3 separate regions of the Homo sapiens genome follow, and all the other regions are linked to region 2. Evidence: promoter capture Hi-C in 16 types of primary human blood cells and fetal thymus (Javierre and others, 2016). All regions are on one chromosome and are shown on one strand. The core of a region is centred on a gene start or on the middle of the fragment in contact, and the rest is flanking DNA. Distances in the headings are between cores, read along the strand shown. Region 1 overlaps SCAF8 (SR-related CTD associated factor 8). Region 2 holds the start of CNKSR3 (CNKSR family member 3). Region 3 overlaps OPRM1 (opioid receptor mu 1).

Region 1 (4,557 bases), core at 733-3,232, 290 kb after region 2:
TAACAGCAAAAGCTGCTGCTATTTTCAGTACTCGTCCTTTTACTGAGTTTAAAGAGTTAATTGAACAAGGTAGAGAAATTTAGTGAAAAAGGTGTCAGCTTGTGATGAGCGCTTTATCTGGTTGTCACAGATCACTTTATTTTGTTTAAAGTTCGCTGACTTTCCAGAAGTAAGACAAACTTATTAAGGACTGTGTTATATAAGGTACACAGAAAAACTTCAAAAAATTAACTTATTAATAGTGTGTATTTTTTTCAAAGAGAGTGTGGAATGATTAATTTTACTGACTAAAAGTTTTAGGTGGCCACTCTTACAGAAAAAACCCAACACCTGTTTTGTAATATATATTTTTTTCTCTCCAGCTTCAACAATTAATACAAACCTTACAGATACAACAACAGAAGCCCCAGCCTTCCATTCTGCAGGCCCTAGATGCTGGTCTTGTTGTTCAGTTGCAAGCTCTTACGGCACAACTTACAGCTGCAGCTGCAGCTGCCAACACTCTTACTCCCTTAGAACAGGGAGTCTCCTTTAACAAGGTAGAAATTAAAATATCGGATCAAGTCTATATGAATTATTAAATATTATATACTATCATGGATTTTAATTCTATAAATAAATTTTATTGTAGACTTTCAGTATCTCCTGTACACTGTATAAGACAGTCTGAATTTTACAAAAGGTTCAAACTTCTGAAAAAAATTAAGTAATTAAAAAAATTTTTCCTAGGCCAGGCACAGTGGCTCACACCTATAATCCCCAGCACTTTGGGGGAGCGCAAGGCAGGCAGATCACTTAAGGCCAGGAGTTTGAGACCAGCCTGGCAAACATGGTGAAACCCCATCTCTATTAAAAATACAAAAATTAGCCAGATGATGCGTGCCTGTAATCCCAGCTACTGGGGAGGCTGAGGAAGGAGAATTGCTTGTACCTGGGAGGTAGAGGTTGCAGTGAGCCAAGATTGAGCAACTGTTCTCCAGCCTGGGTGACAGAGAAAGACTCTTGACTCAAAAAAAAAAAATTTTTTTTGAAACATTTTTGAAACATTTAAAATATTTTCATTTGACTAAAAATAACTAGTCAGTAAAATCTTGTATTCACCACTGAGGCAAGTGATTACTTTCTGAGCTTGTCTGATTTCTTTCATGGGTGCCACATTTTACTGTGATGCTCTGGGTTCTGTAATTTGGACCTGCAAAAATTAAAATTCTTTAATCAATATGTAAAATGTTTAAAGGAAACTTCTCTACAACTAGTCACTATACTGTAACTATAATAAGTTGATGCCTAAATTATTAATAATTAAAGTGTTTCTAAAACTTAAAATCTTTCATGTACAATTTAGTGTGTGATATTCTTAGTATGCTTATTAATTATGGGAATATCATACTACTTGGAAGTGGTGTTCATATTTTTAAAATTTGTACTTTTTATAGGAAAGTAGATACTGATTTATTGGATTATTACTTAGACTGTTTTGGCCAGCAGCTTCTAAGTCTAATATAGTCTAACACTAAATAGCTAGACCACATAAAAAGCCTTTAAATTGAGCATTCAGAAGAATAACAGCATTCTAAGATGAGAACCATATTAGGAATAGATCCATTGAATATGGCCCTAGATGTTTTATCAAGCTTATTACCATGGAAAAACCACCTAATTATTTTAATTCTTAGTCTTCTGTAAAATTTGAGTATTAGTGTTTATCCTGCCTCTATCATAATTTGTTTTGTTATGTAAGATAATACATATCAAAATGCTTTAAAGAAAAGATCTACTCAAAACACTTTATAATAGTATAAAGTGATACAAAATGTTTATTTACACATTAAATGATAGATATAACGGAATGCCATTGACATTTAAAATAGCATTTGTAACTTGTATTTGTGTGAAGCACTTTTTAATATGTCTGTTTCTCCTTCTTTCCCCCAGAAGTTGATGGATAGGTTTGATTTTGGGGAAGACTCTGAGCATAGTGAAGAACCCAAAAAGGAAATTCCAGCTTCACAACTGTAAGAATTTTTTCTTTATAGCCATAGTTTTTTTATATTTAGTGGGATGTTGCCATCTGAATTACTAAGTATACTTAGTAAGTTGGGATTATTATTTCAAGCTGTTGAACCTCTAACATTATACAAAGGTGGTAGAGATATGTCTTGTTGTCTCTTTGTATTATTTTGAGTCTTTTCTCAGATCTTTGCAAATAGACTGTATCAAAGTTACCTATAAGAACATTGATACATATTGGTAAATCTGGTTGTAATATTTTCCATATTAGGCTTTAAGTTATTTAACTTAATTGTAAGAGTGGTTGGAATACTAGGAATGAAGCTTGCTTCTAGTGCTTAGAGGCCACTTCTAGAAAGCATATGAAATTGTGGAAACACATCAACCTAATGAGAATTAAGGATTGGAGTTATGAGGATTTTTTTTTTTGTAAAGAAATGTGTTGTATGTTTTTATTAAATCAGTTACTTTTTTTTCCCTAAACAATTCTGCAGTGCCCAAGGTTCTGTGAGGGTATGTGAATGGACTAGTAGGGGGAAGATGTTGGAGGAGGCAGGGGTAGAAGTTGGGAGAATGGAAGAAGGATGAATGGTGAAAGTCTGTGGGTCTCTTGTTTCAAACAGAAGTTATTAGTTGTATATATTGGGGTAATAAACAAAAACATAATTTTAGAATATGTTAGATACAAATGTATCATTTTAGTAAAATGATTCCCCTTGACAAAATTTAAAAACTAGTATTTTAGATTATGAATTGCAAACTTGCAAGCAGCATTTGAAATCATGTTGATCAGTGTCCTAAACAATGTAAGAATCTCCTTTAACAGTCCTGATGATACAGTTTATTTATCCAGTATTTTAATGCTTTCTGTAATGAGAAGTTAACTAATTGTTATTATTGTGTGTTCTTTTGTTGAGCTGAATCCTGTTTCCTTTATTTTCTATTAATATACACTGACCCATGTTTTGCTTTCTGAAGCAAGGAATCAAATTTACTCCGCTATCTTTAGAGATGTAGCTTTTCATTATTTGAAGACAGGTATCATTCTTCCCCTTAGGTTTATTTGCTTCAGATGAAGTACACTTTTTTCCAACTGTTTCAAGACTTCTCACCATCCTGTTTGGCTCTTTTGGGATGCCCTTTTTATTGTTAATGTCTTACCTTGTGGCACCCAGAATCCCAGGTGTATTCCAGGTGTGAATTTCCAAGAATATAGTTAAACTATTATTTTTTCTTATTTAAACAGTATCTGTCTCTGTTAACATACCTAATAATGTATATGATTTTCTAAAGGAAGAATATTAGTTTTATAAATTTTATGGTCAATTACAATGGTAGATTTCACACATACTGATTGATAGACTGTTTTTCTATCTCATAGTAAGAGAAGGAGTTAAAGTAACAATGTTTAAATGTTTAAACTTTTTATAAATATTGAGATTTTCTTAATATGCTCTAATGAAAAAGCAGTAATTTATATGTATTTAACAGCCTGAGATGGTAATATCAGATCTTCAGCAGAGCATCTCTGACACGTTATCCATCTATTGATGTACAATTGAAGAATGTATTTTTCTTTTAATAATTAATGTTCTCAAGTATTCTACTTTAAGTATTAAAATTGCAAAAGAAAACATGCAGTAGAATATGTTTTATTGAATTGACTTTTTTGTTTTCTTTGAATACTCAGTTATTTTCATAGTATCTTTAGTGGGTTTTAAAATATGTTTCCACCTGTTTTTCCTTTTAGTTCTCACGTTTCAGAATCTGTGAACAATTCCATTTTTCATCAGATAGCAGAACAACTACAACAGCAAAACCTAGAACATCTCAGACAGCAGCTCTTGGAGCAGCAACAGCCTCAAAAGGTTTATAACCCCATCTTGTGGTCTTTAGAGTTATTACTATTTATATTCTATAAATTGGCATTTTTGTGGGTTGGCTTTTTTTTTTTTTAATTGGTCTTAATAGAATATTTTCTCAACTATTTAGCTTTTACCAGCTACTTTATTTCTTTCTAAAGTTTGTTATGGTGATATTTTTTCAACTCTTATTAGTAAGACCATTTTTTTCAGGACCTTTATGGTTTTTTCTGTAATCAAATTGTGTTCTGGTAACTTATGAATGCACATTGTAGAAATTAATTTCAGTGTACTGGAAGTAGAGAACAGGATGGAGGGGGTTTCAGAATTACCACTTAAAACTAAACGTGTTTTTCTCTCTGTTCCCTATCAAGCAAGTTGATGATTATGTTAATGGTGACAATGATGATGGCCATGTAGATTGCTATCTTTAATTTTTAAAACGTATTTGCTGTTAGCATGTAGCAGGAGCTTTATTAGGTATGTGGTAGGCTTGTATACATTTAACCCTCAGGCGATGGGCATTATGACTCCCATTTTATCCCAGAGGAAGTGGAAGCTTGGTGAGATTAAACATCTCATGCAGCAGTGTACAGCTAGTGTTATATATTATCTGACTCAAGATGTGCGGTTATTTTATGCATAGCTAAGAATTTTAAAACATCGATAACTAAATGTAACATCC
Region 2 (4,396 bases), core at 784-3,283:
GCAATGCCACTTACTCTTTACCAAGGGAAACCTAGTCACCAAGGCAGAAACATGTGTTGTTTTTAGCTTCATTTTATATAGGAGTCCAGGAAATTCTGCTCACTTGACAAACCCGTTCTCAAGGAGTTCTCCCAGAGGAGCAGGAAATGGTCAGACATACCCACTGACACACCCCACACACCTCGGACATCCTATTCCACGTGGTCTATGTGTAAGTCACAGGCGTGAGAAATGAGATGTAGCGGTGATCAGTTTTCATTATGCTGCAGCCATGGGTGGGACGGTTTGAAAGACGACCTGGTCTTACCAGTATTACCTACCTCACAGGCTTACTGTGATGACCAAGGACAATAACAGAGAGAGCTCTTAGCAAACTGTAAAGCGCTACACAATTCTAGTTATTACTGAGAAAGAACACCATTCCTCACCTGGAAGAGCAGATAGAAAAACAAATAGTAACTTGAAACAGAGATGTCGTTGGGGGTGGGGGGAAACCATGAAAATACAGATTGTTCTTGGTGGACTTTGTTCTCTTGAAAGTACAGAAAAGGGTTGAGTAAACTCTAGTACCTTTCCCTCGAAATCGTAGGAGACATTGAAAAGTAAGCGAGCCAGCTAGGAGGACAAGCTTCTACCTCTGCTCATTCCCCCCACCACCCCCCCACCGCCCCAGCCCCACTGCCTTCCTCATCCCAAATATTGTATGAATCAAGACAGTGGTTCCAAACAATTATATTTCTCCTTCCCAGTGCTTACATGTGGCCTGAAAATGCAGCGCCACCGGGGATACTGGCGCCTCCCGGAGCAAAAGTCACTGCCTCCCGGGGAGTCCTGGCTCGAGGTTTCTCCCTGGCGCAAATGCTATGGTGTTGGCTTTTGCGCGGCCCTCTCGCCTTCTCCAACAAAAACAGACAGGCTCGGCGGACCCGCCGGAGTCTCCCTCTACCTGTCCGACAGCCCTGTCACGCCTGCGGACGGCTCTGGGCAGGCGGCATGGACGAGGTCCCGCGGGAGTCACCCACACAAAGGCACCTTGTGCCTCTGCACTCGGGCCCCCGGGTCGCCGGGCACCGCACCGGGGCCAGGCAGGGAGAGCGCCCCCCGGCCCGAGTGCCGAGTCCCGAGATCGGCATCCCCAGCCCTCAACCGCCACAGAAAGGCCACCCCTACTCCCTGGTTTAAAGATAGGGCTCCCCTCGGCTTGCCACAATCCGCACCCTGGAAAGGAAGAGCTCGGAGCAGGTACGAGAGATAGGAGCGCACAGGCCACTCGGCAGAAGTTTGCATTGTCACCGGGCTGTGCCCTCACCGCTTCTCGCCGGGAGGAAGGGCCAAGTACCCTCTTCCCCAGCTCCTCGTCCGCCCCATCCCCGAGGCTGGAGGACTCCGGACCCCCCCAAGGCCCGCGCACCTCTAGTCCAGTCCACCACTTGTTTGGGGCTCCACTTGGTCACGGGTTCCATGGTAAACCGCTTCGCCTCTCGCTGGGCTGGAGAGTCGCAGATAAAGTGCTGCTGCCTGCGCTCCGGTGCCCCTTCCCGGGAGGGCGCGCCCGCGGCTGCTCCCCTGCGCCCGAGCGACTCCGTCAAGACTGCATGGCCGCGGTCAGCCAGTCGTCCCAGCGCGGCTCCGCCAGGGGAGCCCGGCCCTCTCCCTCCAGCTGCCACAGTCCAGCTGCAGCTCCTCCTTCCCCCGCCGCCGCCGGGATCCCGGGCACAGCTGCTGCTCCCGAGCGACGGCAGCTGCAGGCACGCCGGGCTGCGACCCCAGACCCCTGGCCTCGGCTCGGCACGGGAGCCTCCCGGCCCGCGACCACTTCCTCGGATCTCTCGAGGCGCGATCGGCTCTCCCTCGGCCGGTCTTCTCGCCTGCTGGCTCTCCGGGGTCCCCGCTCCGCGTGCGCTGGCGTCCCGGAGCCTTCCCGGCGCAGGTCCCACCTCCTGCGCCGCCCTCCCGTGCCGCCCTGGCAGGGCCGAGCGCAGAGCGTGCGCGCTCGGGTTGCAAAGTTTCAGCTCCGGTTGCTGCAAACCGAATAAAAGAGAGGGCGGGGCCGAGGGTCTAGGGAAACTCGTGGGAGGGGGCGGGTCCGCCCGAAGCGGCGGACTCGGGTTACTTTCCCTCTCTAAGCCGGTCCGGCTCACACCCGCAGCGTCCCGGGCCCCGCTTTCCTTTTCAAGGGGCGGGTTGTAGATCGCGCGCGCACCCTGGAGAGCCCGCTGGTTTGTGTGAGGCCCTGGCCCTGTGGGTAGCAGAACACTCTGTCTCGCTGTGAGCAACAATACACTAAAAAAAAAAGAAAAGAAAAAAAAAAGTAAGATCTGCATGTTCTGTTCATTTTAAATGCTTTATATCGTAATACTACTCTGCCATTAAGCCGTCATTTTAGGTTTCTTAAAGTAGAACAATTTTTTTTTTTAGATGGAGCCTCGCTCTGTCGCCCAGGCTGGAGTGCAGTGGCGCGATCTCAGCTCACTGCAGCCTCTGCCTCCCAGGTTCCAGCGATTCTCCCGCCTCAGCCTCCGGAGTAGCTGGGATTACAGGCGTCTGCCACTACGCCCGGCTAATTTTTGTATTTTTAGTAGAGACAGGGTTTCACCATGTTGGCCAGACTGGTCTCGAAATCCTGAACTCAGGTGATCCGCCAGCCTCGGCCTCCCGAAGTGCTAGGATTACAGGCCTGAGCCACCGCGCCAGGCCAGAACAATTTTATTTCATTTATATGTTGACTGAAATCGTAACAATGTAACTCTTTTAATGCTATTGCTATGAAATTTCAACTTTGCGACTAAAATTAGATTGATGGCTTTTAGCGTTATATTTTGCTATATTATAATTTCATATTTACAGAGTGAGCTAATGCTCCTTGGGATTAGTCATTAACCGTGAGAGGAAAGCTGTTAGCCAAGAAAAAAAAAATAGCTCGTGCACAATTTCAGCGCCTGGCAGGGGAGGGCCCTTCCACATTCATGGACTGCAACTGGGGCCAGAGTTAATGCTAAACTGGGGGAAAATCTAATTTGAATGCCTGCCTCTCCTTCAAGTTCTCCCTGCATCCTAACCGCCCCCCCAACCCCTGCCACCCTCGCCACCACCCCTCCCCTCACCCCCCAACACCCCCCCCAACCCCCCACCCCCGCCCCGCCCCGCCCAGCAACCTCTTCCTCCCACTCTTTTTGGCACTGAATGATTCTTACTTTCAATTACGGTTATTTATTTACATCTTCCTCTTGGAGACTATTAACCCCTTGAGGGCAGAACCTACTTGATCTCATATAGAGTTTTCTCTCCTCCCTTTCTTCCTACCACCTAACTTGTAGCACCCAGCACGGGACCAAAGGCAAGGTTGGTATTTATTCATTCAGTAAATATCCGGGAATGCTTCCTATGTGCCAGCCACTGTATTCATTCAGTATTTGTTGAATTCGTGTGATATGTGCTACTTACACAGGTCTGTTTGGACGCACATGTGGAAAAATAGCTAGCAGCCAGCCTAGCATCTGATGAGCTGGAGCATCCAAGCAAAAGAAACATTTTTAAAAAGCAAAACATCAGACCCACCTCCCATTCAACTCCCCTAGAGGACTGGGCAACACAGAGACACACAACTATCAAATATAGTGATTCTTTTTCTTCATCTAGCGAAAGTGACTGGCAGACCACACAAGTTGGCAAAGGCAATGACAAAATTCCTGATATAGTAGTTGTCCTTAAAAAAAAAAAAAGACCTTTAAACTTAATGACATCCAGCATTAACCATCTTTACAGCAGTCAGCAGAGAGAAGGACCTTGACACTGGTTCACTGGAAAGGGTAACCAACCTGATGCACACCTTTTGTTTCAGCAATCACTGCCTGTTGTGTGATTTCTGATTATGATTAGGGTGACCACATAACTTACCTCCAAATCAAAATATTCTTGAGCATGAAAGAAGCAACTATCAAGAATTACATTGGAATAACATGAATAAACTGGGCCATACGGTCCCCACAATTATAAAAGAAAGGTCAAATATTAATGATTTTGCCGTGGAATTTTACTTGATGTTTTCACGTCTTCAGATTCATTGGCAGTAGTCTTTACCAGAAGAGCTAAAACACTAAAATTCTGCGAGTCAAGCAAGAGTTTGCAAAACATCCCACGGAGCCAACACACTATCTATACTTGGTACATAAATACAGCATAGCTAAAGAGGAAGGCCACGCTAAGATCTCTAACCCGGAAGACCAATTAACTATCTAAATGAATTAGCATTCTGTTTACACTTCAACTTCTGGAAGCTAATTACTATTTAAATAAAGCCTTCTACCTTAATTACAGCTGTTAGCACGTGAAAGTTTTAGGGAGGCCTGCCTTCCTAGCTGAAATGCAAACTTGAGGACATACAAAGCTATTAATG
Region 3 (4,691 bases), core at 1,620-4,119, 420 kb before region 2:
CAAAACCCATCAGGTGTACAGAGGTAATTTATTTAGTCTGGCTTCACTTAACACAAATAGGTCAAAAGCAATCACATTTTGTAAGTAGTAATAGTTGGAGAAATGTGTGAAGAATAGGTCAAAAGATAAATAAGAATTATTTTATAACCATAAGAAAGGAAGAACATCTATAAACAAAAGTCATATATGCAACATAAAAGAATAGGTGAGCTGCCAGCAAATGGGCCTCACAATGCCTTTTCCCCAACACTTCTGGAAGTTCCATAAAAATCACTCTAATGGGTCAAACATCGATGGTTCTCAGAAGAACACAATTTTTTTCAAAAACGAATAGCATTGTAAATTCATTTGAATTCATAAAACAAAAGAGCTATTTAATCATCTAGACCAAAGTTAAAGAAATACCTACTACAAAAATTTTAATGGGATAATTAGAAAGAAATAGCTTGGGCCACTGCTTCGAGCAGAAGATGGAGTTCAGTGGCTACCATAGGAAGGGTCAATATCAGGATGGCCTGTGAGTCCAGATGAGTCTCTCTTTGCCCATTTTGCCACAGAACACATTCACAGCACAGTACAAAGCAGTAGGCATGGAGTAAGGAAAAAGGCTTGTGTTTTAATAGCCAGGAGTTCTACTCGGACCCACTCAGGTAAACTGAATGGCAAAGATAATTCTTCCTGCAGGTCATTTCTTTTGCTAGTTTGCTAACTCTGAGTCCTATGCTCCTGTGCAAGGCCCATGATGTGACTCTGAGCATTCATTGAACTTTGCTGGGACAACATTCATGCCACCACATCAGAACAGAATGAAAGCTTGCCCTTTTTTTTTTTTTTTTTGAGACAGTGTCTCTCTCTGTTGCTCAGGCTGGAATGCAGTGGTACGATTCTCCTGCCTCAGCCTCCCAAGTAGCTGGGATTGCAGGTGCCTGCCACCACCCCCAGCTAATTTTTCTAATTTTAGTAGAGACAGGGTTGACCAGGCTGGTCTCCTTCCCCTGCCCTCAAGTGATCCATTCACCTCAGCCTCCCAAAGTGCTGGGATTATAGGCTTGAGCCACCAGGCCCAGCCCACATTACTCCTTTTCTGATTAGACCATCTCTTCAGATTAAAGCCTTTGGGTATATGCTGGAGGCAATTGGAATTCTTAATCCTTTAGCTTTGTATAATTTTCTTTCACATATTTAGAAGATCGTTGAGCCCCCTTTTATATGTTGCTGTGATCCAAAGCATGAGTAACTGGGGTAAGAATGCTGGCTATCTTTAGAGGAAGACTTTTTAAATAAATTGAGAAAAATTAAACAGCATCATTCCTATAAAATGCCCGTTGAAAGAATTTTTATAGATAAATATTCACTTTTTTTTGGTAAATTGATGATAAAATTATGTATATTTACCATATACAACATGATGTTTTGAAATGTATACACATTGTGGAATGGCTAGCATGCTAATTAACTATGCATAACCACGTTTCCTTTCACCATGTTGAACCCTGACATAATTTTTTTTTCCACAAACACCTCACTCTGGAGAAGGAAATGATTTTTTTTAATTAAAATAAACATACATTGGAAATACTTAGTGCTAAAATAAGCCTGAAGGAAAGGTTGGAAGTATGATGAGTCAGAAAACTGACTGTAAAGAAACCAATTACTTAACATAAAACACCATTAAAGATAAGCCACGAAATGTAAGGTCTGCTGGGTAGGAAAGTGGCAAATGCAATGAAGCATGTCTTTAGATCATGCAGGTCTATAACCAACGGTGAATCTAGCAAAAGTTATTTTCTCTTTTGGGGAGAAACTTCTTCTTATTAAAAAAATAAAAAATGTTTCAACTTCTTGAGCACCAAGGTCAATTATTCTAAATCTTAAAACCACAGTTTTAATTTTGCTTTTTTGTTGGTTTTTGTACTTTGGAGTATTTGTCTACATTATCCTTTTTATATTTGCCATATTTAAAGTCCAAACTAAAAGCAAATTATTTTCTCTCCTCAAGTTAAATGGCTCTATCTTTTTCTTTAAAATCCATTAAGAAAGTGAAACTCCCAAAGTAAGTCCAAAAAAAAGCCCCCAAGTCTGAAAATGTGGAGCTTTTCTGGCAGTAATGCAGCTTCTGCAAGTATTGCAGACCAGATCAGGTATCAGAATTTTAAAGCTTCAGTAACAAAGCTGTCCTATTGACCCTGAGGAGATTTATGAAATCACTTTCCTGATGTTATTGAAACCAAAACACTTTCCTGGACACTGAATTCAGTCCTAAACAAAGGGCCTCCAACCAACAGCTGTCTTGGGCTGAATGAGTTAGACTCAACCTCGTGTGACGGAAAAACAGTAAACACAAGCTAACATTTAAAAGGAATTGATGGCACCGTGTAAATCAGAAGCCCAAGGAGGGCCTGGCTTCAGGTGTGGGGTTCTCTCTCACGCTCTCAAATCCACATCCTCCGGATTAGGTCCATTTTCAGACAAGCTCCTCCAGCAACTACATACCATGCGTCTTCTCAGGTGTGGGTCCTGCAGGAAAACTAATACACTCTTTGTCCATAAGTCTCAAAATAAACTCTCACTGGCTCTGGTTGGAACATGAGAGCATCCTTGCCATTCACCATGGCCCCGGTCACTAAACGTCTTCACGCCCTGGACTGGTAATACAGCCTATCCCAAAGCACCTGGACTGAGAACGGGAAATGAGTGGTTCCCAGAGTGAAACTGAGGTACTATTACTAAATTAAGGTAAATATATGTGGAATGTTAAAAAAAAAATGATGTCCAATGTTTACAAGGTATACTTCTGCCATCAGATATAATGTATTATTGCAAGTGTACCTGCTTATATTCTACTATCATATTTCTAATTTCTGCAGGCCTTGAAAACATATAACACTCCTAGATACTTACCCAGGAGGAAGAAAAGCATATGTTTATATAAAGACTTGCACATGAATGTTCGTAACAGTTCATTTGTAACATCCAAAAGTTGTATGCAACTCAGTTCCCATTAATAGGTGAATGGATTAAAAAAAAAAACAGATGAATGCATAAGTAATACTACTTGTCAATAACAAGGAATTAATTCTTGTTATATGCAACCACATAGATGAATCTCAAAATAATGACACTGAGTGAAAGAAGCAGCACAAAAAAAGAGTACATACTGAATGATTCTATTTGCATCTTCTAGGAAATGCAAACTAATCTATAAGAACAGAAAGCAAACCAAGATCAGCAATTGCCTGAGGAATAGTGAGGGTTGGATATGAGGACAGGGAGGGGCAAACAGGAAAGATTAAAGAGCTACACAAAGACACTTTTGGGAGCAATTGATGTCATTATCTTCATCAGAGGTTGACATTTTTTTCTGTAAAGTGCAAGATAGTAAATAACTTAGGCTTTGCATGTCATCTGATCTCTGTTGCAATTATTGAACTTTGCCATTGTAGCATCAAAACACTTATGGGTTTTTAAATAGGTGTATTTATTTATAAAACAGGCAACGGTCCAATTGGGTCTACACACCATAGTTTGCCAATCTCTGATCTTAATTATGGTGGTGGTTTCACAGGTGTACACACGTATCAAAGCTTATCAAATTGTATACTTTAATTATGCGTTATTTATTATAGGTCAATTCCACCTCAATAAAGCATTAAAAAATAAAAACAAAGCAAACACACTTGGGTTCCTCATCATGGATTGGATAGAGTCTAATCTTACCATGGCATACAAGTTCTTCATGTACTGGCCTCTCTTCTTCCCCAGTCAGATCCCTTGCCATTCCCTGGTAGAATGTGCTTGACACACACATCAGGCCATTCCAACTCTACATCTTTGTTGGGGTTCTCTCTGTTACCTCTCTGTCTAGAATGACCTGCTCCTACCAAGTGTCTAACTCAATCATCCTGCTTGTGCTTTGAGATTAAACTTGCACTTCCAGGATGCCTTCCACATCTTACTCCTACTATTCCCTTTGCCTTATGCTCTGTGAGATGCCTCATCTCTGTGCCCCATAATCGCCTGTGTGTTTGTATGTGCATGTGTTTGTGTACATACCTATAGACACTTGCACAATTATACTTCTTGATAATTTTAACTATATTTATATAGCTAAAATTTTCTCTTTTATATTTAGAATTACTATCCAGTCGCTGCCCCTACTATTTGACTGGAATCTCCCTCTTTCTATTAGACCTATCACAATGACTGACACATTACAAAAAAAAAAATTAAAACCCTCACTGCGTGTGGTGTCTCATGCCTGTAACACAAACACTTTGGGAGGCCGAGGAGGGAGGACTGCTTGAGCCCAAGAGTTCAAGACCACCCTAAGCAACATGTCAAGACCCTGTCCCTACAAAAGTTTTTTAAAATTAACAGGGTATGGTGGCATGCACCTGGGATCCCAGTTATTCAGGAGGTGAGGCAAGAGGATCTCTTGAGTCCAGGAGGTTAAAGCTGTAGTGAGCTCTGTTCATACCATTACACTCCAGCCTGGGTAACAGGGCAAGATCCTATCCAAAAAAAAAAAAAAAGGAAGAAACTCAACAAAGCAGCATCGTTGCTATTATTGCAGCTATTTAGCCAATAGGTACATCATTGACATCATTGTAAATAGCCAAGCTGATACTGGAAAACAATTCTATATCTAATCTCAAAAAAGCTTTCTACTAATTCATGCAAATTTATTATTG

The links. Contacts are between HindIII fragments. The CHiCAGO score rates a contact against its expected background, and 5 or more counts as called.
Region 1: a fragment that was not itself captured here is called in contact with the fragment with the promoter of CNKSR3 in region 2 in 3 of 17 cell types (erythroblasts, M2 macrophages and megakaryocytes); the score reaches 6.8 in erythroblasts.
Region 3: a fragment that was not itself captured here is called in contact with the fragment with the promoter of CNKSR3 in region 2 in 1 of 17 cell types (non-activated CD4 T cells); the score reaches 5.3 in non-activated CD4 T cells.

What each region holds. Positions count from the first base shown.
Region 1 is chr6:154,801,609-154,806,165 of GRCh38, forward strand. It overlaps SCAF8 (SR-related CTD associated factor 8), which reads left to right. Exons shown (of 20, transcript NM_014892.5): 7 at 363-539; 8 at 1,936-2,015; 9 at 3,761-3,878. Among named protein-coding and RNA genes, the nearest start is that of MIR1273C, 49 kb to the right of the region's middle. The HindIII fragment of the contact is 700 bases long and covers 1,633-2,332 here.
Region 2 is chr6:154,508,652-154,513,047 of GRCh38, forward strand. CNKSR3 (CNKSR family member 3) reads right to left here and starts at 2,034. Exons shown (of 13, transcript NM_173515.4): 1 at 1,412-2,034. The coding sequence starts at 1,463. It overlaps LOC101928868 (a long non-coding RNA gene), which reads left to right and starts at 2,140. Exons shown (of 2, transcript XR_001744422.2): 1 at 2,140-2,311. The HindIII fragment of the contact is 4,325 bases long and covers 627-4,396 here.
Region 3 is chr6:154,085,069-154,089,759 of GRCh38, forward strand. The region is part of intron 1 of OPRM1 (opioid receptor mu 1); the gene reads left to right. Among named protein-coding and RNA genes, the nearest start is that of OPRM1, 48 kb to the left of the region's middle. The HindIII fragment of the contact is 1,426 bases long and covers 2,157-3,582 here.